Linked DNA regions of Homo sapiens: regions 1, 2, 4 and 5 are each linked to region 3. Evidence: promoter capture Hi-C in 16 types of primary human blood cells and fetal thymus (Javierre and others, 2016). All regions are on one chromosome and are shown on one strand. Each heading gives the region's core, a stretch centred on a gene start or on the middle of the fragment in contact. The rest is flanking DNA. Distances are from core to core; before and after follow the strand shown.

Region 1 (4,620 bases), core at 754-3,253, 130 kb before region 3:
AGGTTGTTCTAGAGAAAAACAAAATTTTAAGGACTTTTTCTTTGTGCATATGCCTCAGGTAGGCATCATGTGGGCCTAGGCAATAGGACCTAGGAAGGAGACTCCCCTGTTCCCAGGCCTGCCGCTCCTACTCAGGAGGCTGAAGGGTCCCCACCCCAACTAACCACAGAGTCAGACACATTCTTCCTAACACACCTTCCTCCCGACCTCCCAGCTTCCCTCTTTGTCACTGAAGTCATAGACTTTTTTTTTTGAAGAATTATCAACCTAAATAACAAACAGAAGCGATTCTCCAAAGATGATGAATTTATTTGGAAATGAGCAGCATGATTGTGATGCGGAGTGCCCGTGCCACAGCAGCCATGGGCGCATCCAGGAGGCTGAGGCAAGGGGAAGCTTTTAAGGGCACAAGGAAGACTGGGTGTGGTGACTCACGCCTATAATCCCAGCACTTTGGGAGGCTGAGTCGGGTGGATCACTTGAGGTCCGGAGTTCAAGACCAGCATGATAAACATGGTGAAACCCCATTTCTACTGAAAATACAAAATTAGCTGGGCATGATGGCACATGCCTGTAATCCCAGCTACCTGGGAGGCTGAGGCAGGAGAATCGCTTGAACTTGGGAGGCAGAGGTTGCAATGAGTCAAGATCGTACCATTGCACTCTAGCCTCGGCAATAAGAGCGAAACTTGGTCTCAAAAAAATAAAGGCAAAAGGAGGAGTGCACAGGAGTTGTTGAGTTGTTTTTGAACAAAGAGAACATTGGTTACTTGGGCACAGGAGTTGAGGTCAGATTCTTAGTGGAGATGGCATGTGAGGTGAGAGTGCTCCAACATGTGGCCGGCCGTCCAGTGACTCCTGTGGCAGGCTGCAGTTGGGAAGGCCCTTGGAAATAGTCCTTATTACAGGCATATGTGTGTCACAGCCTTCAGAGAGTCTTTGTAATAGTCCTTTTTTTTCCTTTTCTTTTTAGAAATGGGGTCTTGCCTTGTTGCCCAGGCTGGAGTGCAGCAACGTGATCATAGTTTACTGTAGCCTGGGCTCAACTCCTGGGCTCCAGTGATCCTCCCGCCTCAGCCTCACAAGTAGCTGGGACCATAGGTGTGAGCCACTGTGTTTGGCTGTAATCGTTGTTATTGTAGGCGCATGTGCATGAGGACCCTCCCTTCTTAGGCTCCTGACTCTACTTTGCTTGGGTTTGAAACAAGTGACTCCATCTTGAAATGGACAACTGGCACAGAATAGAGCATTTCAAGGGCAGATTAGATGGCAACTTAAAAAAAAGGTAAAGAAAAATTAAAGAAAAAATTAAAGGTAAGGAAAAATTTACACTTTCTAGGAACTTCACGAAGGAAGGGAAACATGAGACAAAGAAAGAGAAGTGGTTATCAGAAACTAAACTGCACGAGGCTTGTGAGGTTTCTCATGTTCCTCCTGGAACTTCCTCCTAGACTGTATTCTGCCATCTGCTCTGGGGTCACGAGGGAAAGGGCCCCTCTCCTTTCATGGCCTAGAAAGCGTGGCTCTGAGCCATTCTTTGGGCTGAGGTGGGTGTCTGGGGTGCTGGTGGGGACAGCCAGGCCCTGCCTTCCTGGGTACCTCTTGCTGCTTGTCAACAGACCCTGCCCTCCATACTGTGAGGGATTGAAGGATTAACTCCAATTCTTTCCTGTCCTCCATTCATACCCATGCCATTGCTCATCTTGGGCGGACTGTATTTCCCTGCCCATTGAGTTTCGGTTTGGTCTTGTGACTTGCTTTGGCCACTAGAATGGGGCAAAGTGAGAGGGTTCCCGTTCTCAGCCTGCCCCTTGTAAGACCCTGCAGGCTTCTGCTGGCCTCCTGGGTTTCTGCCCTTGCCTGGGGGCTTTCCCTGGGTGGTTTCGGTTCCTTCTACTTGGTACCTGAAATGAAGACATGTGGGACAAAGCCACTCCAGCTGACCTAGAGATCAACAAGATGAAGCCAGTAGACCCACAGATGACTGAGAAATGTGTTTATTGCTGTATCTGTGCCATGTCGATTTTTGTGGTTGTTTGCTGTATGTCACTATTTTGGCAATAGCTATATATTCCCTTTTCCTTCTTCTCTGTGCTCTGGTCTGAATTAATGCCTCTTTGTTTCATCTCATTTCCCATTGCTTTTCACTTTATTATAAAAGCACTGCAATTTATACATTGAAGCAGAAAAGAAGGGTGGAATCCCCATAATTCCATACCCTTCTGTGAATACACTGGTGTCCAGACTGTTGGAATATATTCATTTATTCTCTCTTCATATGTACATTTAAAAGATGAATCAATTCTTTTTTTTTTAAAAGCAAATTGTTTCATTTAACAATACATGGTAAATATACTTGGTGTTAGTGCTGTCTTCAGGGTTCCGTGGAGCGTTTTACAGTCTTCTTTTTAGCACCCTCCTAAAGATGTTGAAGGAGGTGGGTGATGGGGTTGCCTGACTCCTTCACCAGGAGCATCCTCACATCCATCTCTTTCACACATTGGGGTTTCACATGCGCGTTTATTTGCAAAACAGGGCTCTGCTACAAAAATCACCAGTTGAAAATCACCAATCTAAAAACTGCTTTTTATGTGTTTTAATGATATACCATGCAACATTATTATAACCAATCCCTTATTTGAAAATTTAGGTTGTTTTGGGTTTTATAATTAAAATCACATGCTTATGGCATATATTTGTGTATACTCTTAATTATTTCCTTACAATAAATTATTAGAAGTGGACATATAATTTCTATAAGTGTAGGTATAAAATCCTGGCAGTAGAATTTCTAAAAGTGGAAAGCATATGTTCATGTAAAGGCTGCTAAATTGCCAAAATACCCTCCCAAAACCTTATCAGTTACTCTTCCACTGGCAGTGATGCCAGGTAGAACCTCTGACTGTTTGGCAAATGAATGTTTGTATCTTGTGGCTTTAAATTACTGTTCTTTACTAATTAAATGAGGCTATTTCTTCATATAGTTATTACCATTTGCATATCTTGTCTTGTGAATTTTTTGTTTATGTGCTTTGAGCATTTTTTTTGACTAGGATGTCATCTTTTTCTCATTGATTTATAATACCACTTATATATGCTATGTTAGAAAGAATGCTGGATTATAATTTGATGTATTAAGATGGTCTGGCTGGCATTACAGATTAGTAGAGAGTAGAGGATGAAATATCCAATAAGCAGTGCTAGGACAACTAATTATTTATATGAAAAAATAAAATTTTATATATATAATTTTTTAAATTATAAATTTTATAATTATAAATTATAAAAATAAGAACACTCTGTTGCTCAGGCTGGAGTGCAGTGGTGCGGTCTTGGCTCACTGCAACCTCCACCTCCCAGGTTCAAGTGATTCTCCCGGCTCAGCCTCTCGAGTAGCTGGTAGGTGAGCCCCACCATGCCCCCACTAATTTTTTGTATAGAGATGGGGTTTCACCCTGTTGGCCAGGCTGATCTCGAACTCCTGACCTCAAGTGATTCACCCACCTCGGCCTCCCAAAGTGCTTGGATTACAGGCGTGAGCCTCCGGGCCGGTCATAAAATTACATTTTTATCTCACTCTATTCACAAAAAATTCCACTGTGAAAAAAAATAAAGCTTCCAGAAGAAATATGAGGAAGATTTTCCAGTTTTTAAGGTACACAAAAAAAGCACAAATCATAAGAGAAAATATTGATAATTTTGACCAGATCAAAGTTCTGTATAATAGAAGACATTATAAACTACATCAAAATACAAGCCACAGACTTTGAAAAGACACCTGCAAAGCATAAAATAGTGAATTATTAGTACAGATGCTCCTTGATTTACGAAGGGATTATGTCCTGATAAATTCATTGTAAGTTGAAAATATAAATGGAAAAGGCATTTAATATATCTAACCTATGGAACATCATAGCTTAGCCTAGCCTACCTTAAACATGCTCAGAACAACCACCCGAGCCTATAGTTGGGCAATAGTCATCTAACACAAAGCCTATTTTATAATAAAGTATTGAAAAATCTCATGGAATTTATGAAATACTGTGGAGCGTTATGAGAAAGTATTGTACTGCGTATTGCTAGTCTGGAAAAAGATCAAAATTCAAAATGCAAAGTACAGTTTCTACTAAATGCATATCGCTCTCTACTATTGTAAAGTTGAACAATTGTAAGTCAAACAATCCTAAGTGTAAGTCAGGGACTATTTGTACATAGAACATAGAAAAATGGATGTGGTGTCTCACACCTATAATCCCAGCACTCTGGGAGGCCGAGGTGGGAGGACTGCTTGAGCTCAGGAGTTTGAGATCAGCCTGGGCAACATGGCGAAAGCCCATCTTACAAAAAAATACAAAAATTAGCTGAGCATGGTGGTGCAAGCCTGTAGTCACAGCTACCTGGGAGATTGAGTTGAGAGGATCACCTGAGCCCAAGAGGCCGAGGCTGCAAAGATCCGAGATTGCACTACTGCACACTAGCCTGGGCAACAGAATGAGATCTTGTCTCAAAAATAAAAAAGAAGAACATATAAAAATGTGGAACATAAAATATAGGATATAAGAAACATACAGCATATCAAATGCCTATAACTTAATAAGGAATGTGCAGACAACCCAATAA
Region 2 (5,219 bases), core at 435-2,934, 210 kb before region 3:
TCTAGCTGGAGGATATGTCTTTATGTTATTTCATTGACAATCTCCTTCTCTCCATTTTCTCTTTCTAGAATTCTTTTTTTTTTCTTTTTTGAGAGGGAGTCTTTCTCTGGTGCCCAGGCTGGAGTGCAGTGACGCGATCTTGGCTCACTGAAAGCTCCGCCTCGTGGGTTCAAGTGATTCTTGTGCCTCAGCCTCTCAAGTAGCTGGGATTACAGGCCTGCGCCACCATGCCTGGCTAATTTTTGTATTTTTAGTAGAGATGGGGTTTCACTGTGTTGGCCAGGCTGGTCTCGAACTCCTGACCTCAGGTGATCCACACGTCTCGGCCTCCCAAAGGGCTGGGATTACAGGCGTGAGCCACTGCGCCTGGCCTAGCTCTTTCCGTTTTAGGAGCTTATTCCTAGTTTTAAAATACCATCGTATAAATATAGGATTTCTTTTTTAAAGTTCCATTCATCTCCTTATTTCAGCTGTGGTTTTGGTCTCTCACGTTGGAATCATTCCTAAAAAGCCTGATTGAAAGCTTCATAGGAAGGTGGGGCCCTGTTAATTGGTGGGCTGTGTTGCAGGGTGATCATGCAGCGAGGCTGATTTTTTGTTTATTTAAATGATCCCAAATGTCAGTATTACCTGCATGTCCTTTCTCTGGGCCTGTACAGTCTTTCCAAAAAAGAATCCTCAGAGCTTTTGTCACCACCAGGCTGTTTGTGTTCTGGAGGCCAAGTGGGGTCAGGAGGCTGAGAGCCACCATTTAGCACAGAGACTTTGACTTTACCTCCCCCTATGACCCTTTCGCCCTTACCTGTTCCGTTCCTGCAGAGTACACTCTGGCCTCCTGCAGTGGTGGAGCATTTGAGGGGGCATTCTCCAGTGTCCCCAGCTTCATCCGTCTCTCCTGCACCTTGTGTCTCTTGGTTCAGAGCCTTTTCAGGGTTCAATCAATTCAATTCTCTTACCCCCTGCCGCACCCCACTGCAGGGACTCTGCTCTGCTCAGTCTGTTACCACCATTGCTTCCCCACCATCTTTCTCCTTGTGAATTTATATGTTTTTATTCCTTTGCTATTGTCTTAATGGGGTTTTAGGAGAGTTAAAAGAAAAACTCGGCCAGGCACCATGGCTCGCACTGCAATCCCAACACTGTGGGAGTCCGAGGCCGGAGACCACTCTGGGCGACATAGTGAGACCCCATCTCTACAAATAATTTTTCAGGCTGGGCACGGTGGCTCACACCTGTAATCCCAGCACTTTGGGAGGCCAAGGCGGGCGGATCACGAGGTCAGGAGTTCAAGACCAGCCTGGCCAACATGATGAAACCCTGTCTCTACTAAAAGTAAAAAAAAATTAGCCTGGTGTGGTGGCACGTGCCTCAGGAGGCTGAGGCAGGAGAATCGCTTGAACCCAAGGTGGAGGTTGCAGTGAGCCGAGACCGCACCAGTGCACTCCAGCCTGGGCGACAGAGCGAGACTCTGTCTCAAAACAAATTTTTTTTTTCAAAACTAGCTGAGCGTGGTGGCGCATGCTTGTAGTTGTAGCTACTCAGGAGGCTGAGGTGGGAGGATCACTTAAGGTCGGGAGATTGAGGCTGCAGTGAGCTGTGATTACACCACTGCACTTCAGCCTGGGCAGCAAAGCGAAACCCCATCTCAAAAAAAAAAAAAAAAAGAAAAAAAAAAGAAAAGAAAAGAAGGGAAGCCTTAGATAAATTAAATTTAACAGAGCTAACTGAGCAAAGAACAATTTGTGAATCCAGTGGCCCCTGAACCAGAAGAATAGGTTCAGAGAGACTGGAGCTGCCATGTGGCCAAAGAAGATTTATGGACAGAAAAAGGAAAGTGACAGAAAGAAAACAGAAGTGAGGCACAGAAGCAGCCAGATTGGTTGCAGCTTCGAGTTTGCCTCATGTGAACCTGGTTTGAACAGTTGGTTGCCTTTGATTGGCTGAAACTTGGTGTTTGGCACAAGAGTAGGTTATCGTTTGTTTACACATCCAGTTAGCTCACTGTTCACTAGGGAGGAGAAACCTTTAGGCCGAACTTAAAACACATAAGGAGGCAGCTTTGGGCTAAACTTAATGATTTTCCCTCTTTAGTCAACGTCTCAAAACTTTAGGCATCAATGTCACCCTGTCATCATCATAAATGTACTTATTTGGTCCCAAATCCTACTGGGAAATAGTAGAACAGTGGGTTTTCTAAGGTGGGTAAAGGTGAGAGTATAGGGGACCTCCTTGTGCTGGAATCTCCTGTTTACAATAGAAAAACAAAACCTGGTCTGTCTTAGGAACTATCTGCTTCCTTGAAGTTTCAGTTTGATTATGTCACATTTATCATGAATGACTCCATTTTGATGTGGTCTGTTGAGGCCTAGTGCACAAGCTGAGTCCACCATGGCAAATGCGACAGGAGTGGGTGGGGATAAACATATGTATCTAATCCACCATGTTTAACTAGAATCTATGAGTTACTTAGAAAGACAAATTACTACATTTATGTATATATATACATGCACACACACAATTTTTGGGGAGAGGACATAATTTAGCCCATAACTATATCCTTCCCAAATTCATATGTTCAAACCCAGCTATGGTCTGTGTCCTCTAAAGTTCATGTGTTGGAAATTTAATTTCCAATGCAACTGCGTTGGGAGTTAGGGCCTAATGGGAGGTGTTTAGGTCATAAGGACTCTGCCCTGATGAATGGATGAACACTGCTATAAACAGGGCTTGTGGCTCACACCTATAATCCCAGCACTTTGGGAGGCCAAGGCGGGAGTATTACTTGAAACCAGGAGTTCGAGACCAGTCTCAGCAACATAGTTAAGACCTCCATCTCTGAAAAAAAAAAAGCTTAGCTGGGCATAGTGGTGCATGCTACTTGGGAGGCTGAGGCAGGAGGATCCCAGCCCATGAGTTGGAGGCTACAGTGAGCTATGAGTGCACCACTGCAACCCAGCCTATGATTGCACCACTGTACCCCAGGGCAAGGCAAGTGAGACCCTGTCTCAAAAAAAAAAACAACAAAAACAAAACAACCAACAAAAAAACTACCACTAGATGGAGATGCCGAGCACAACCCATGTCCGTTGCTCTTTAAACTTAGGGGGTTCTATAGTTTTTCAAGTAACAATGCTGTGGAATTATTTTTCTTACCTACTTCCATCATCCCGTGTTGATTTGTGGTTTCATCCTCAGAACTTCTTGGCTGGTACTGAGTTATCAGGATTGATTCGCATTAGTGTCACTAAAGTTGGTATACAATCTTCCACTGCTAAATTTGACTGCCTTTAAAAAATATTAAAAAGTAAAAAGAACTTCTAATTTCATTCTAACCAGAAATCATGCCAATTTGTTGCACTGGTTTTATATGCCATGTGCCTATTTGTTAGAACCGTAAACCAGCTCAGGTCATAGAAAATGAGTGGAATCTTAGCCAGTGGAAGGCACTTAGGGTAGTTTAGATGCTGTGAAATTAAATGTTTTTCAAGTGTTCTTTTTAATATTAATTTCAATGTATTTTGAATATATCAATAATATATTGTATATTATCATATTACACATAATATAGTATATTTAATAATATACTAAGATTTAGTATATTAAAATTTAATTTAGTATATTATTTATAGAATGTAGTAATTTAATAGAACATTATGTAGTAAACATGTGACATTGTTTTAATTGCTAATAATTTCCAAAGATAAACCTTCTTAAATCCCGTTAAGAGGATATTCTCTTCTCCTGTTTTAAGAAAGTGAAGGCAACCCAGTTAGGAGGCATCTGGGACTTTCCTGGCCAACTCTGAAGACATCAAGTTGAACCATGACCCGGATTCGGTCTTGGAAGCAGATGAGAGGGTAAAGAGTTGAAGCCAGGTCTACACTCTGATTCCTCCAAGTCACCGAGTGGTTTCATGTGAAAGGGGTCTGGGCAGGAGTGAGCCGAGGTTAGCGGTGGTATTTCAGTGATTTGGCAAATGTGCACAGATGGCTCATAAACCGCCCCCCCACATGCCACCGACAGGAAACTACCACTTGACAACACGCCTGCTTCTGCCGCATCACAGACTTAGCAGAGTCTGTTCAGAATCTCCTTGCATTTCCAAATGAAGCTTGGATGTTAGCAGATGTTAAACCCAAGAACAGGTACACCTGGGCTCTAAATTCATCTTCTGACTGAAGTTGAAGATAAAACCTGATACCAGTTTGGAGTAGAAAGAGACACAGTATTGTAATCATAAATGACATTTGACCTTAAAACAGTAACACAGCAAATTTCTAATTAAAGTGGAGCATGTCCTGTCTTGACTGAGGCACCAAGACGATTTGTTGCAGATTGTTGCTGGCAGTGTGCAGTCCCCAAGACCAAATCACCAAGAGGCACAGTGGTAAGAGTGGTCAGCAAGGAGCGGAGCGCCTTCCTCCCACCAGCAGGTGACTCACCACATCGTGTCCTCCTTGGCGTAAGAGGCGCCCTAAAGGTTTCTCCGTTCCAGTTATCCTAACTGGAATACTGTTCCTGAAAAAAGCGTATATTTAAGGCCCTGCTAGCTATAAGCAATCCTTCAAGGAAGAGAATTATAAACAACCTTTCTTCCAAGTTTTTGTTCTTTGCCTCACTTATATGCCGATTTAAATCGTTCTCTAAGAAAAGGTGGTATTTCCTCTCACTGCAGGTTCTACCAGACTCTCATCACCTGCTTGCCAAGCAGCAGCCAAGGGAAAACAGTTTGAAATTTACTGCTAACAATTGGTTCACATACATACCGGGTACGGGGGACTCTTGCCTGTAGTCCCAGCTACTCAGGAGGCTGAGGCTGGAGGAATGCTTGAGTCCAGGAGTTCAAGTCCAGCCCAGGTAACATTGTGAGACGCTGTCTCTTAAAAAAAAAAAAAAAAAAAATTGGTTCACCCTGCTGTATAATGCATTGGCAATTCAGTGTGGTCTAATCAAATTAGCTTAACCATGGGATTGCGCTTAGATTTGCTCATTCATTTTAACCATAAACACTTACTGAATGTGTACCATGGGACAGACACCTTTCTAGAGACTGGCTATATTGTGGTGAAAATACACCATGGGACAGACACCTTTCTAGAGACTGGCTATATTGTGGTGAAAATACAGGCCAAATCCCTGCCTTCGTGTGGCTTCTATTGTGGTGGGAACTAGACAAAAACTGTCCAAGTGAATAAATGAATCAGTAATTTCAGGTAGGT
Region 3 (4,705 bases), core at 338-2,837:
GTTTTCTCTATTTTTTTTTTCTGTTTCAAGATTTCTTCCCTTTAGTATTTCCTTCATCCTCCTTACTTTAGGTTCAATTTGCTGTTCCTTTTCTAAATTTTTAATGTGGTATCACAAATTATTGTTTTCATTTCTGGATCTTTAATGTAGACATTTTTGTCTACACATTGCTTTATTGTTAAAGCATTAGATGAAACGTGGTGCTCACTGCAAATGTAGTCCCTAACAGAGAACTTTCCTACTGCAGTGATCCCTGTAACCTGAATAAAGATTCCCTAAGTAATGATCCAGTGCTTTAATAGTACTAAAAATAAATACTATATTTTGCATCAATTTCTGTAATTAAATAGAATAATATATACCTTCTAGCCAGGTTTAGGCTTCAGAAACAAAATATAATCCTAGTCTTTTAAGGTATCTCAGTTCAGAATCGCGGAGATGCTTTCTCATGCTGCCTGTTCTTTTGGACTTGCCTTCGTTTGCCTGTCAAACCAAGGGACCAAGTGGTCTTTGTTATTTAAGTCATGTTGCTCTGGAATGTAAATTATCCTTACTGTTGGTGCAAGATGTATTCCATTGCCTTGTTCTGCTTTTTAGTGTAGCCATCCTGTGCTTGTATACCCAGGGCCAATCACATTCTATCCTCAAAGAAATGTATGTCTTTCTCTTACAGTTCTCTTTAGAATTATTAGCAATTTTATAATTACTAAAGTGCTATGTAATTCTAAATAAGGTCTCAGCTGTGGGGTATAATGGTAAATTGAGACCCCTTTTACAATGGAAAAATAACTGGTTATAACGGTGAGCTGGGACCCCATTACAATACTCTCAAAGTTTCCATTTTAGTGGTAAGTAGTGTCAGATGTCAGTGTTTAGAATATTTCAGTGGTTCCAGGACCATCTCAGGAGGTGAATTTTGGGCCCATCCTAGTCAGTCCAGTGAAAGTCATTTACTCTCTTTTGCTTCTAGCAGATGACTCATGGACATACCCTGGAAATAAGGACACACTGTGGACTCAGAGGACATACCTGAGGTACTGGGAGAAAGGGGTATGGGGGCTTAGCTGGGAGGCCTGTTGTGCTGAGCAGGGGTTCAGGGGCTCAAGGGTCTTTCAGAATAACTGATAACTCTCTAGTTTTGGCCCAGAAGTTTCTTCCAGAATGTCACAGCATGACCCATGTTTTTTGTCTCACTGCAGAGCCTTTGCAAGGTTCAGTATGGTAGCCACCAGGCATACCAAGCTGAATATTCCTTCTTTCCTTCTGGGGAAAATGCCTGGTGCAAGTTGTTCTGCCTGACTTTGCCTTTTAGAATTCTGACAATGGAGTAGCTATTTAACTTTAAATAAATTGAAACAAAATAAAATTTAAAATTCAGAACTGCAATCACACTCGTCACATTTCAAGCGCTCAGTAGTCACGTGTGGCTAAGGGTCACCATCTTGGACAGCACAGAACAACCCCATCCCTGCAGAAAGTTCTATTAGAGCTGCTGGATGATCAGGTGGGCAGGTCCCTTGCACAAGTAAATCTGGACAGCTCCTCCCCTCACTTCCTCTCTTCTCCTGTTTCTCAACATCCTGGCTTAGTATTGTGTGCAAAATCAGAGAGGGGTGCAAGATCCTGATTTTTCAGGTAAGGGAATAGGGGTGTGTGTGGTGGGGGTCGGGACGAATGTGCGATTTTGGTGAGGAGGGACCTGTATCTTAAATCGTCTGGTAAACATGTTTTCAGACTATATTCTCGCTGGTTCCCGTTTCCTGGCTTTGCTAATTTTAGGCTGTGATCTGTTTTCAAGGCTGAGCCCTACAAATCAATGCCTCTTCCAGAGATTGCTGCTCAGAGGATACTTGTTTTACAAATAAATGTTTCCTCTCGCTGGTTGTGGAATTTATATAGAAACTTTGATTCTTCCAGGGATAAAGTTGGGTGAGCGGACAGAATTAGCTCTGGGGGAGCTGGTGGGAAGAGGAACATTGGGATGTGTAAGGGGCACAGCTCCATATGTGGCCCCACAAAGACTGCACCCAGGTCAGGATTGGAGGCTCTGCAGTCTGAGGTCTTGTTACAGGGTTAACTGTCTGCTCGGAGCTGCCCGTTAGGGAAACTGTCTCCTCAGGGACAGTCCTGGGTTTACTGGGCATTGAGCTCCCCTTTAGCGGGTAGGAGGAGGGAGATGCCACCTGGTGTGACTCTCTACAGTTCAGGAGAAGCTGGATGCTGATGGGTGCTTGTTCCTTAGGCAGAGAGAGGAGAATTCAGCCACCTGAAGTCAGCACCTACAGAAGCACAGTCTCCTGGCTTTGCCTCTGAATTATTAACAGCAGAGCAGCATTAAAGAGCCCACACACTAGAAGGAGGATATGAAGAAACACCCAGAGAATGTCACAAAAACCCAGAATGTCACAGTATTGTTTTCTTCTTGCTGGTGTCCTATCCTCTCTCCTAACACCAGCCACCAAAGCTGATTTTTAAAAAATGCCATGATTTCTCTTGTTTACAAGAAGCTGTTTCCTATACCCTATTCTTGAAGGATAAAGAAATAGTCATTCAAAAGAAATATCTGGCTTTTCACAGTGTTTCATATTTGTTGGCTTCCTATGAGGTGACTCTGTCTTTAACAACTACCATTTTCTGCCTGTTTTGTTCAAAGTCTGCTCCAATAAGAGTTCTTCAAATATCTTTCTCCATTGCAAAATGTTTGTAGGTAGCAATGAAATAAAACATTTAAAATTAATACCATGTTTCTATAACACTACATATTAATTAATAAAGGAATGGATTGTCATTTTCACAGATCAGATGTGGGCTGGACATAATGATCAATCAAAGGCAAGAAGCAGGGAGATTATCCATTTATTTATTTAACAATGATCGATAACCATTCTTTGCCCAGTATTGTGCTTGTCCCCAGGGAATAATGAGAAATACAAGACATATGTGGTCTTCTCATCACAAAGCTTGTAGTATAAGAGGAGACAGTAAAAAAATCAAGCAATTAACTTCCTAAAGTAATACATATTCTGTAAGAAGCCTCTGGGGTGCAGTGGATCATAACAGAGGGTGTTGCTGGTAGACAGTGGTGTTGGGGAAGACTCTCTGGAGAGCCGAGGCCTGCGGGTTGAGCAGGAACAAGCTGGGCACTAGGTTGGAGGGTGAGTGCTCCAAAGAGAAGGAATGATAACTGCAAAGGCCTTGAAGGTGGAAGGAGCCTAGATTTCCAGAACATTGAGGGTAGTGTGGCTCACACATAGGAGAGAGGAGAGAGCTGATCACACAGGGCCTATGGGCCATTCTGAGGACTTCAGTTATTTTGAAACCAATAGTAAGCCACTAGGAAATTTAAACAAGAAAAAATATCAAATTTTAGTTTTAAAAGAACATCTGATTGTAGAGTAGAAAAGGGATTGAAGGGGAGATGATCAATTAGAAGCCTGTTAAGTTGTATACAATTGACAGTGGGTTGTATTAGCACAAAGATGGAGAGAAATGGGTAATTTCGAGTTTTTTGGAAGTGGAATCAATAGGATTTGGTGATGGGCTGATGAGAGAGAGAGGATAAAAGAGTTGTAGATGACCCCAAAGTTCTGCAGGAGCCACGGGGCTAGATGTTGGTGCCATCTGCTGAGCGGGGAGCCAGGAAGGCAGACAGGATGTGGAGGTCAGGGCTTAATTTCGGCCAGGTTCTGTTTGAGATGCCCATGAAATAGCCAAATGGAGTGAGATACAAAAGTTTGGAACTTTTATAAGCTGAGGGAGATATAAAAGTTTGGAACTCTGAGGAGGGTGTAGGCTACAGACCTCATATAAACACATCCAAGCCACGAATCTCTAGATAGAGGGGGGAAGGGGCCAGAACCCCTGTGAGGAAGCACTGGAAGCATTTATGTTTGTGTAAAGAAAAAGGAACAATCTGAAAATGAAACTGAAAATGGAGGGTTGAGGAGACTTTTGGGAAATGGAGCAGGAGAAATCAATGTAGCAAGCTCATGGCAAAAAGAAAGTTGTTGTTGACTACAGGCAGTCAGGGATTCTAGTTGCTTCCATTTCCCTAAAATGACATGGTTATGTTTCTTGATCTACAGGAGTTCAAGCGACAATGGCAGCCCAATACGGCAGTATGAGCTTCAACCCCAGCACACCAGGGGCCAGTTATGGTGAGAGGGCATTCAGTGCTCCCCAGACCAGGCTGCAGGGAGGTTAGCAGGTGGGGGTGGGGGATTTGGGGGGGAATAGGGGTGGGGTTCTCCTGCCTTGCCACCCAGTCCCCATTTGAGCAGGAGAAAAATATTTCCAACCTCTTTTCTCATTTTCTCCTCATTTGACCTGCTCTTTCATCTTTCTTGACCCTCTGCACTTTCTGCCCATGGTGTGGCTAAGCAGCTAAGCAGAAGAGAGATTAAATATCCTCTGATTGACCCAGGGCTCGGCACAGTTTCTTACCTCCTGCTTCCTACAACATGGACACACCAGAACAGCTGGTTGTAGCCTATCTGATTGTTTTTCTGCCCCTTTCTTCAGCCTGGAGGAGAACTGGGAATGAGGAATGTGGGAGTAATTGTCCCTCACCCTGGTATCTAATTTCCCAGCTCCTGGTGGTCTCACTATAACCAACAAATTAAACTGGCTGGCTCATTCAGTGTATCACATGACCCTCCATTTTCTTCCTTACCCATAGAAATTGACTATATCAGTTGAGATTTTG
Region 4 (5,095 bases), core at 1,540-4,039, 160 kb before region 3:
GTGGGAGCGCCGGGACTTAATTACGTATTTATCCAGGGTTGCGTGGCTCCGCGGGGGGGCGCTGCGGCCGTGGGGGGTGGGCTGCATTCATTCCCTCTGGGAGCTGGGGCTTGCAGTCGGGCGGGGTGGGTTGCGGCAGCAGGGTGGAGGCCTACGTATTTTCGTGGGGGTGGGGTTGCGACGCAGAGTTTACCATATTTCTCCAGGGTTGCTCCGGCCGCAGAAGTTGGCAAGGTTGTGTGTAAGGTCGGGTGGGGTGGGGTCAGCTCTCCCGATTAATGCAGCTATTTGATAAGAGCAACGTCGCGGGACGCTTGCCGTCTTTATGGGGGCGGGGAGAAGGGGCGCGGGTGTCGCTGCGGGAGAGTTACCGTATTTGCGTTGAGCAGCGCAGACTGTAGAGCAAAGAGCTGCGGCCGGAGACCGGAGGAGCAGGGGCTCAGCTGGGCTGTGAGTGTGGCATGGGAGGAAAGAACTTGGGGGAGAGACGGGGGGCCTTTCGGCGTGCAGGCGGGGCCTCAGTCAGGGGTATAGCTGGGGAGAGTGAGGAGGCTGCCCAGTCACAGGGCCGGGCTGAGATTGGCCAAGGGGACTTTGATGATCTGTCTTTGCAGATGTCAGTGCAGCTGCCTGTGGAAAAGACTTGTGGGTGGGGTCTCTTGCAAGTAGGACTTGTCTCCTTCCCCAGGGTCAGTTCCACCCCGGCCTCGAGGGTACGGAAGACAGAGGAGGTGGCCCTGAGACCCCACTCTGCAGATAGGTTGACTGAGGCTGGAAGTGAAGAGAGGCCTTCGGGGAGGTCCAGTGGAATATTCAGCCGGCTTCCCTGATGGGGTTGGGGAGAATGGATGAGGCAGGCCTTAGGGCCCTGCAGGAGCCCAAGTTTTGGTGGGGGTCGTGGGAGTGGTGGCAGTAGACAGTGCATCTACAGGAGAAGTGGCCCTTTGGAATGCATGGCTCTGTGACGGCTGGGATGGTGGCAGTGGGGGGTGTGTGTGTGTTTTGAGGAGTGTTTAGTTGTTGAGCAGCTAGTACATTGAAAAGAGCTTTCAACAGTGAGACAGGAGACTTAAGGCCTAGTCCAGGCTCACCTTGCTCTGTGACCTTGGCAAGTATGTTGACCTCACTGAGCCTCAGTTTCCCCATCTTTAAAGTGGGGCTCAATAACCCTGCTCCGCCCCTTTCTCAGGGCTGTTGTGAGGACAATGGGAAACAATTTAAGAGGAACACAGTGTCCTGGGAAGAGGATCCTTTGGAGAAGCAGCATGAAGGGAGCTGGGTTTGGGGGTGTTGGCTGGGCACTGAGGGTGCTGCTCAGCCTTGGGCCAGGCTTTGCTGTGAGGATACCAAGAGGAATCACGCTGAGACCAGTCCCCCTGGGAGCCCACACCCTGGTTCAGTGACTTGGAAACCTTTTGAACACATGCCTCATTTTGATAAACAAAGAGCTGCCGCCTTTAATGTTTAACCGAGGTCACTTTCAAGTTTACAGGGTTGTGTTTTTTTTCCTGTTTTAAGCTTCACAAAAATATCTTTAAATCACTGATAATGCCACCCTTTTCTCCAAGTTTGGGGTGCACTTCCCTACCTCCCCCTGTCCTTGAGATCTGGTTGGAGGGATAAGACATATCTAGACGAAGGTAACTGAAAATCCTAGCTGAAACTGAAACTGAAAATCCTAACTGAAACTCATCACCATCTGTCTAGTGTCTTGTGTGGCTGGCTGGCATGGTGCTAGGTGCTGGGGTTGAAAGAAGGCAGCTCTGTCCTTAGGGTGCTGGGAGTCGGGGGACAGAGGTGGCATGACTGACCCTCGTGCAGTATGATCAGTGAGAGCCACATGGTTGTGTCACACGGTGTTTAAGCCCGGGGTGGAAAGGTCAGGGAAGGCTTCTAGGAGAAGGTGCCCTTGGGAAGGGACTGGAAGGAGTGTAGGCCGTGCTTAAAAGGCAGTGGAGGAAGAGGAACACCAATTCCCAGCAGGGGAACTTGAGCTTGAACAAAACGGGGCGAAAGGTGGAGGTTGTGGGAGGTGAGTGTCCCTGCCAGGCTGGGGGTTGGCTAACCCTCGTGTTCCCCGACCCCTCTCTCTCCACCCCCCACCCCCGCCCCCGCTTCTGTCTCCCTAGGGACTGGTGATTGCAGCTGGAAGTGCCCATGACCGAGCTGGCGTCCTCCGGGGGCGGGTCCCCTGCGGGGGACGGGGAGGAGGGTCTGGGGGACGAGCGAGGCCTGGTCATCCACCACCCTGCAGAGGAGCAGCCCTACCGCTGCCCGCTGTGCGGCCAGACCTTCTCGCAGCAGCCCAGCCTGGTGCGGCACCAGAAGGCGCACGCCGGAGCGGGCCGCGCGGCTGCCTTCGTGTGTCCCGAGTGCGGCAAGGCCTTCAGCGTCAAGCACAACCTCGAGGTGCACCAGCGCACGCACACCGGGGAGCGGCCCTTCCCCTGCCCCGAGTGCGGCCGCTGCTTCAGCCTCAAGCAGAACCTGCTCACGCACCAGCGCATCCACAGCGGCGAGAAGCCGCACCAGTGCGCGCAGTGCGGCCGCTGCTTCCGCGAGCCGCGCTTCCTGCTCAACCACCAGCGCACCCACGCGCGCATGCCCGCGCCGCACCCGCGCCGCCCCGGCGTCTTCGGGGAGCGGCGGCCCTACTTCTGCCCCCGCTGCGGCAAGAGCTTCGCGCGCGAGGGCTCGCTCAAGACCCATCAGCGCAGCCACGGCCACGGGCCCGAGGGCCAGGCGGCCCACTTAGGACGCGTGCTATGATGCGCCCGGGGCCTGCTGCCGACGGCTGCTTCCCGCCCCGCACGTGCGTCCCCGACCCCTGGAGATGGCCCTGGGCCGCAGCTCCCTCTCTAGATGGGATCCCGGGAGAGGGGCAGCGCTGGCTTGGGCTCTTGAAGGTGTGGGCCGCCGCCAGGCTCCGGCCGCCCGCTCGCGTTCCTCCCTCGGGACCCTCTGGCTGGCTGCGCACAGCTGCTTCCGGCTCCTGCCATGGTTCTCCTTCTCTGGCCCATCCGGCCTAGAGCAGGTGAGACCTGCGGGGCTGGCCAGAGCCCCTCTCAGGGCTGGGAGTGGTGGGGGTGGAGTGCGTGGTGTTGATTCTTGATGGCAGGTGGGGCGGTCTGGGTACCGGGCTGTAGGTTTCTCTGTGATGAGCTGCTTACCGGATCTTCATCCCCAGAATGTCAGAGTTGAAAGAGACTTGGAGAGGCCACTTTCCACAAACCCCACGCCCAACCTCAGCCCCTAGGCCTCCTGGCTCCTGTACACACTCTCTGCTGTCCTTGAGATGTCATTTCACTTCATGTTTCAGTTTACTCATCTGTAAGTTGGGGATATAGATGAGGGACTCTTCCTCGCTGGGATATATTGCAGCTACTGGATGAGAGAGGGTGAGGTCACTGGTGCACAGAGCCTTAGTTGATTCTGCCACACCATGTGCCACTGACTGTGCCGGGCTGGGCTCTCCCAGAGACACACATGAGGACCGCAGGCCCTGACACGGGGTGCTCACACTCGGTGTGTGACGCGGGGCCAACCTACAAAGTGCTCTGGGGTGAGACCGAGGAGGGTGACTGGTTTCTCTTCGTCACCCAGGGGAGTTTGATGGCTTTGAACCAGGTCATGGGGACAAATAAAATTGTTCTAGGAAGAGCAAGTGTGTAGAAGGGTGTTTTCAAGGGAGGGGGGGTCCTGATAGTTCAGTGACTGTCTCCAGGTGTCCCAAGGGGAGGTTTGCCCTACAAAGGACTTCGTGGTCAGGGGGTGGGGACACTGAGATTTTTAATGAGATGAGTGCTATGATCTCAGACTTATGCTTTAGGAGGAGAATCAGAGGCACTGTGAGGACAGACTGATGTGGGAAGAGCTGGAGCCTCGAGGGGCTTGGGTCATCTGGGCAAGAGAACATAAGGCCCCCAGCTAAGAGGCCTGGCCAAGGTCTGGCAGTGAGAAAGGGGGCAGCCAGGACTCTGCTCCAGGACCTCTGGTTCCAAGCTGGCGCTCTGAGGCACGGGCCTCTTCAGCCTTTTGGCAGATGAGGAAACAGGTTTGCCAAGCTTGCCTACACCACAGTTGGTACTTAGGGGTACAACAGGTGGAAGCCAGGGCTTTGTTTTGGATTCTGAATCCCAGAACCTTTTAGCTTCACTGCTTAAAAAGTGGACGATGGAGCAGGGAGGATTTGGGGCCATGTGATAGGAGCTGGGGCAGGGGTGTTAGGGGTGGTACGGGTGTTTGAAGGGGACATGGCATCCCTGGGAGTGGTTTGGGAGGAAGGGAGCTGGGGCTTCGAGGGGACCTGCACATTCAGTCCTGTGCTGGGTGCTGGAGACTCGTCCCTCCCCACTGCCCCCTCTGCCCATCCTCAGTGCTATGTGGCTATGGCTCCTCGGAGACTGTCCTCTGCCTACCACTCCCAGGTGCTGTAGACTAGCATTGGTGGCAAAGATGAAATTAAACAGGGGCTTCGGACACCTGGAGTCAGTCACCAAAATGCCCTGAACCCAAGGTGTCTCATCTGTAAATGGGATTCGTAATCCTTGCAGTGCTTGGTAGGGGACAAAGAGGATTCATTCAAACCCTAGGACAGATTCAGGGTAGGCCAGCTGATCGCTCCCTCCTAGCCCCAGAGGGGTGGCTGGGCAGGGCCATGTCACGGCTCCACACCTGATCCTGATCTCTTTGTTTCTGTCGACAGTTGCAGAGTGGGCAGGATCTTAAGACCCGATAGGTGCAGAACCCATCTGGACACGGAGACCAGGAATGGAGTTCCATGGAGGCCTGGCTGGCACTGCACCCGGGCATGAGGACACATCCAGTAAGAAGACCTGCCTCAAGAGGTGCACTGCGGTGACCAGTGGAGGTGACTGGTTGGAGCCTGGAATTGGAAGCAGATTCCAAGCTCTGGTGGACAAACTCTCCAGGCCTGGTGGGAATCACAGCTGGGGCAGACCTCATCCTGGCTGCCTGGCCACAGGCCCCCACTCTCTGCCACTGGTGGTAGGACGATGCCTGTGTGGAGAGCTGGCTTCTCTGCTCCCGCCTGGTCCACCACTTGGCTAGAGTTCAGAGACAGGAAGTGATTGGT
Region 5 (5,044 bases), core at 764-3,263, 200 kb after region 3:
TAAATTTTTAAAAATCCCTTTAGTGAATACAGAAGTAAAAAAGTTTGAAGACCATTGCCTTAAAGAAAAACTTACATGAATGCATAAGGATATTTTGTAAGAAGACTCATGATAGTAAAAAGCTACAAACAACCCAAATATTCATCAATACTGCATTGGATAAGCAAATTATAGAATATCCACACAGTGGAATGATATTCAGCAGGAAAAATGAACAAAACACAATTACCTACATCAACATGAATAAATATCATATACATAATGTTTAATCAAAGAAGAACCGTTCTTTTCCCAGAAGAATACAGAATCTGATTCCATTTTTGACAAGGTTAGTCGTGGAAAAAAACTAAAAATATATATTGTTTAGAGCAACAGACATAGGTGATACAAAACTATAAAGAAAAGCAAGGAAAGGCTGGGCGCGGTGACTCACGCCTGTAATCCAAACTCTTTGGGAGGCCAGAGCAGAAGGATTCCTGAGGACAGGAGTTCGAGACCAGCCTGGGCAAAACAGTGAGGCCCTATCTCTACAAAAAAAAAAAAAAAATTGGCCAGGTGAGGTGGTGCACAAGGTGATCTTGCTACACAAAAGTCCAAAGTGGGAGGATCGTTTGAGCCCAGGAGGTCAAGGCTGCAGTGAGCTATGATTGCACCACTGCACTCCAGCCTAGGCAATGGAGCAACACCCTATCTCAAAAAAAAGAAAAAGAAAGAAAGTGAATGATTAACACAAAAGAGAGGATAGTAATAATACCCTAGCGACAGGGAGAGGAACTCATGGAGGTGGGATGGGAAGCTTCGAAGGGCAATGCTCTACTCCTTAAACTGGGTATGGCTTTATTGAGCTTTATGCTGTACATATACTCTTATATATATATATTCATGATATACTTAACTATAAATATAGCTCAACCATATTGAAAAACATGAAACAAGACCTGAACAAACAGAAAAACAGACCATGTTCTGGTATGAAAATACTTACCACTATGAAGATATACATTCTTCCAAAATGGATATATACATAATTAAATTCCAATTGAAATCTGTTGTTTTTGTGTGTGGAATTAGATATGCTTTCTTCAGGCTCCCTTGTGCGGAAAAAAAATGCCTGAACATAAGTTAGTCTGGCATCGGCATAAAACACACAAATAAATCAGTAGGACAATATACATAGTACATAATGAATCCTAGTTAATAATGGGAATAAATGTATGAAAAAGCAGAGGAAAATTGGTTATTTAGTTAAGTGGTGAGGAAAAAACAGCTTTCCAATTAGAAGAAAGTAAAGCTGGGCTGCTACCTCACACTACATAAAAATCCAAGAGGCCGGGCACAGTGACTCACACTGTAATCCCAACACTTTGGGAGGCTGAGACAGGTGGATCACGAAGTCAAGAGATCGAGACCATCCTGACCAACATGGTGAAACCCCATCTATACTAAAAACACAAAAATTAGCTGACCGTGGTGGTGCCCGCCTGTAGTCCCAGCTACTTGGGAGGCTGAGACAGGAGAATCGCTTTATCCCGGGAGACGGAGGTTGTAGTGAGCCGAGATCGCACCACTGCACTCCAGCCTGGCAACAGAGCAAGACTCCATCTAAAAAAATAAAAAATAAAATAAAATCCAAGAAGGATTGAATTTGTGTCTGTAAAAAAATAACATGAAAATCTTAAGACAAAATACAGGAGATTATATGTACAAGCCAAGAGTTGAATGTACTTTCTTAACCAAGACATGAAGCCAGAAGTTATAAAAGAAAAGATGGCTTTAAAGTGTTTAATATGGCAAAGATGCCATAAACAAATTTAAAGATAAAAAAATAAATTTTTCTCTTGAGCCCAGGAGTTGTAGGCTGCAGTGAGATCTGATTGCACCACTGAAATCCAGCTTGGGTAACAGAGTGAGACCTCATCTCTAATGAAAAAAAAAAAAATTAAGATGAAATTTTAAAATCTATGTTACCAAAAAAACTCACAAAAATAAAAATGTGCAACATCCTTAGACTGTTCACAGATGAACAATCAATGGCCAATACACATGTGAAAAAAATTCACTTCATAATGAAGGAAATGAAAATCAAAACAACTTGAAAGCATTGTAAAAAGTTATATACTATTGACAAAAATTAGGGGTGAGCTGAGGTCTGGAGGTCGAGATCAGCCTGACCAACATGGAGAAACCCCATCTCGACTAAAAATACAAAAGGCCGGGTGTGGTGGCACATGCCTGTAATCCCAGCTACTCCGGAGGCTGAGGCAGGAGAATCGCTTGAATCCGGGAGGCGGAGGTTGCAGTGAGCCAAGATCGCGCCATTGCACTCCAGCCTGGGCAACAAGAGCAAAACTCCATCTCAAAAAAAAAAAAAAAAAAAAAAATAGTGGTGAGGTTGGGAAGAAACGCAAAAGATGCTTTAATGCATTGCTGGTAAATGTAAATTATTACAGCCTTTTAAGAAAGCTCTCAATAGGATTTATTTTATTTTAAAATATTTATACACTTTAATGCATCAACCCTATTCCAAAGACTCCGTCTCATGGCAATAAAAGCTCCAGTTAGTATAGTCTGGTTTTGCAGAATTGTTTCTAGAGGCAAAAACATAGGAAGAGAGGTAAAAGTGCATCAGTAGGGATACTCATATTGGTATACTCATATCATGGAAATATTATGCAGCACTAAAAAGGATTATTAGAATGGCTAAAATTAAATACACTGAACACACTGAGTGTTGGTGAAGATGTGGAGGGACTGGTGGTATATAAAATGGTGCAATTGGCCGGGCTCAGTGGCTCACGCCTGTAATCCCAGCACTTTGGGAGGCCAAGACAGGCAGATCACCTGAGGCCAGGAGTTCAAGACCAGCCTGGCCAACATGGCGAAATGCTGTCTCCACTAAAAATACAAAAAAAAAAAATTAGCCAGGTGTGGTGGCAGGCGCCTATAATCCCAGTTTCTCAGGAGACTGAGGCAGGAGAATTGCTTGAACCCAGGAGGCGGAGGTTGCAGTGAGCTGAGATCACACCAGTACACTCCAGCCTGGGCAACAAGAGCAAAACTGCATCTCAAAAAAAAAAAAAAAGTGGTGCAATGACTTTAGAAAACAATTGGCCAGTTTCTTAAAAAGTAATCTTACACACCCATAATATGACTCAGGCATTCCACTCCTAGGTATATTCCTAAGAGAAAAGAAATCATGTGTTCATAAATGTCTTATACCTGATCATTCATAAAGCTTTATCTGCAATAGGCAAAAGTTGGGAATAAACAAAATATCTATCAACAGGTGAATGGATAAACTAACTGTAGCATATCTATACAATGGAATATGACTTCTCAATAAAAAGATATGAGCTACTGATTCACACAACATGGGTGAACCTCAAAATTATTATGCTCAGTGGAAAAAGTCAAACAAAAGGAGTACATATAGTATATATGGTGTGATTCCACTTACTCTAGAAAATGCTCACTATTCTATAGTGACAAAAAGCAAGTCAGTGGCTGCCCGGGGATGGGGGTGAGAAGTGTCAGGAGGAAGGACTGACAAGGGTCATGAGGATATTTTGGGGGGGGCCAATGGATATGTGTCAAAACTTATTAAATCGTACACTTTAAATATGATTCTCTCTCTCCCACTCTGTCTCTCTCTCCCTCTGAATTCTCCCTCTCTCTCCCACTGAAAACTGGAATAAGACAAGGATGACCACTCTCACCACTCCTATTCAATATGGTACTGGAAGTACTAGCCAGAGCAATCAGGCAAGAGAAAGAAATAAAAAGCATTCAAATAGGAAGAGAGGAAGTCAAACTATCTCTGTTTTCAGACAATATGATTTTATATGTAGAAAACCTCATAGTCTCTGCCCAAAAGCTCTTACAGATTCAAGACAAACAACTTTAAGAAAGTTTCAGGATAAAAACTCAATGTACAAAAATTAGTAGCATTTCTATACACAAACAACGTCCAAGCTGAGAGTCAAATCAAGAATGCAAGCCCATTCGTAATAGCCACGCACACAGAAAAAAATAAAATACCTAGGCATTTTCAAATCTCTTTCAGTAAAATATCTTTCACCTCCCTAACCAAGGAGAGTTTTGTAATTCTCAACCCCAGTGAGGCGAAAGATCTCTACAATGAGAATTACAAAACAATGCTCAAAGAATTTAGAGATGACACAAACAGATGAAAAAACATTTCATGCTCATAGATAGGAAGAATCAATATTGTTAAAATGGCCATACTGCCCAAATCAATTTACAGATTCAATGCTATTCCTATCACACTACAAATTACCTTTTTAAAGAATTAGAAGAAACAATTCTAAAATTCATATGGATCCAAGAAAGAGCCCAAATAGTCAAAGCAATCCTAAGCAAAAAGAACAAAGCTGGAGGCATTACATTACCTGACTTCAAACTTTCCTAGAGAGCTACAGTAACAAAAAACAGCACGGTGTGGTACAGAAACAGACATATAGACCAATGGAACAGAATAGAGAGCCCAGAAATAAAGCCACACACCTACAACCATCTGATCTTCAACAAAGTCAACAGAAACAAGTAATGGGGAAAAGACATCCTAGTCAATAAATGGTGCTGGGATAACTGGCTACCCATATGCAGAAGATTGAAACCGGACCTCTTCATTTCACCATATACAAAAATCAACTCAAGGTGGATTGAAGACTTAAATGTAAAACCAAAACTACAAAATCCTAAAAGAAAACCTAGGGAATACCATTCTAGACATAGGCCCTGCCAAAGATTTCATGACAAAGATAACAAAAGCAATTGCAACAAAAACAAAAATTGACAAATGGGACCTAATTAAACTAAAGAGCCTCTGCACAGCAAAAGAAACTACCAACACAGTAAACAAACAACCTACAGAATGAGAGAAAATATTTGCAAACTATGTGTCCAACAAAGGTCTAATAACCAGAACCTATAAGGAACTTAAACAAATTAACAAGCAAAAACCCTTTTAAAAATGGGCAAAGGACATGAACAGACACTTCTCAAAAGAAGTCATATACATGGC

What was found. The method cuts DNA at HindIII sites, captures the fragments that hold promoters and counts their contacts. A CHiCAGO score of 5 or more calls a contact.
Region 1: a contact is called between a fragment that was not itself captured here and the fragment with the promoter of GIMAP4 in region 3, in 1 of 17 cell types (non-activated CD4 T cells). The highest score is 6.7, in non-activated CD4 T cells.
Region 2: a contact is called between a fragment that was not itself captured here and the fragment with the promoter of GIMAP4 in region 3, in 1 of 17 cell types (non-activated CD4 T cells). The highest score is 6.1, in non-activated CD4 T cells.
Region 4: a fragment that was not itself captured here is called in contact with the fragment with the promoter of GIMAP4 in region 3 in 1 of 17 cell types (non-activated CD4 T cells); the score reaches 7.1 in non-activated CD4 T cells.
Region 5: a fragment that was not itself captured here is called in contact with the fragment with the promoter of GIMAP4 in region 3 in 8 of 17 cell types (total CD8 T cells, naive CD8 T cells, non-activated CD4 T cells and 5 more); the score reaches 11.4 in total CD8 T cells.

What each region holds. Positions count from the first base shown.
Region 1 is chr7:150,434,057-150,438,676 of GRCh38, forward strand. The region is part of intron 1 of LINC00996 (long intergenic non-protein coding RNA 996); the gene reads left to right. Among named protein-coding and RNA genes, the nearest start is that of LINC00996, 2.7 kb to the left of the region's middle. RefSeq lists enhancers at 1,490-1,709, 1,930-2,029. The HindIII fragment of the contact is 3,219 bases long and covers 395-3,613 here.
Region 2 is chr7:150,353,548-150,358,766 of GRCh38, forward strand. It overlaps LOC107986858 (a long non-coding RNA gene), which reads left to right. Exons shown (of 3, transcript XR_001745420.3): 3 at 3,752-4,599. Among named protein-coding and RNA genes, the nearest start is that of REPIN1, 13 kb to the right of the region's middle. The HindIII fragment of the contact is 2,327 bases long and covers 522-2,848 here.
Region 3 is chr7:150,565,803-150,570,507 of GRCh38, forward strand. GIMAP4 (GTPase, IMAP family member 4) reads left to right here and starts at 1,588. Exons shown (of 3, transcript NM_018326.3): 1 at 1,588-1,635; 2 at 4,086-4,157. The coding sequence starts at 4,100. The HindIII fragment of the contact is 6,433 bases long and covers 1-2,958 here.
Region 4 is chr7:150,405,455-150,410,549 of GRCh38, forward strand. It overlaps LOC728743 (zinc finger domain-containing protein LOC728743), which reads left to right and starts at 222. Exons shown (of 3, transcript NM_001395976.1): 1 at 222-450; 2 at 2,130-3,034; 3 at 4,706-5,095. The coding sequence starts at 2,158. The coding sequence ends at 2,769. RefSeq lists enhancers at 693-1,201, 1,495-1,544. The HindIII fragment of the contact is 2,546 bases long and covers 1,517-4,062 here.
Region 5 is chr7:150,769,322-150,774,365 of GRCh38, forward strand. The region is part of intron 2 of LOC105375566 (a long non-coding RNA gene); the gene reads right to left. Among named protein-coding and RNA genes, the nearest start is that of TMEM176B, 29 kb to the right of the region's middle. The HindIII fragment of the contact is 2,439 bases long and covers 795-3,233 here.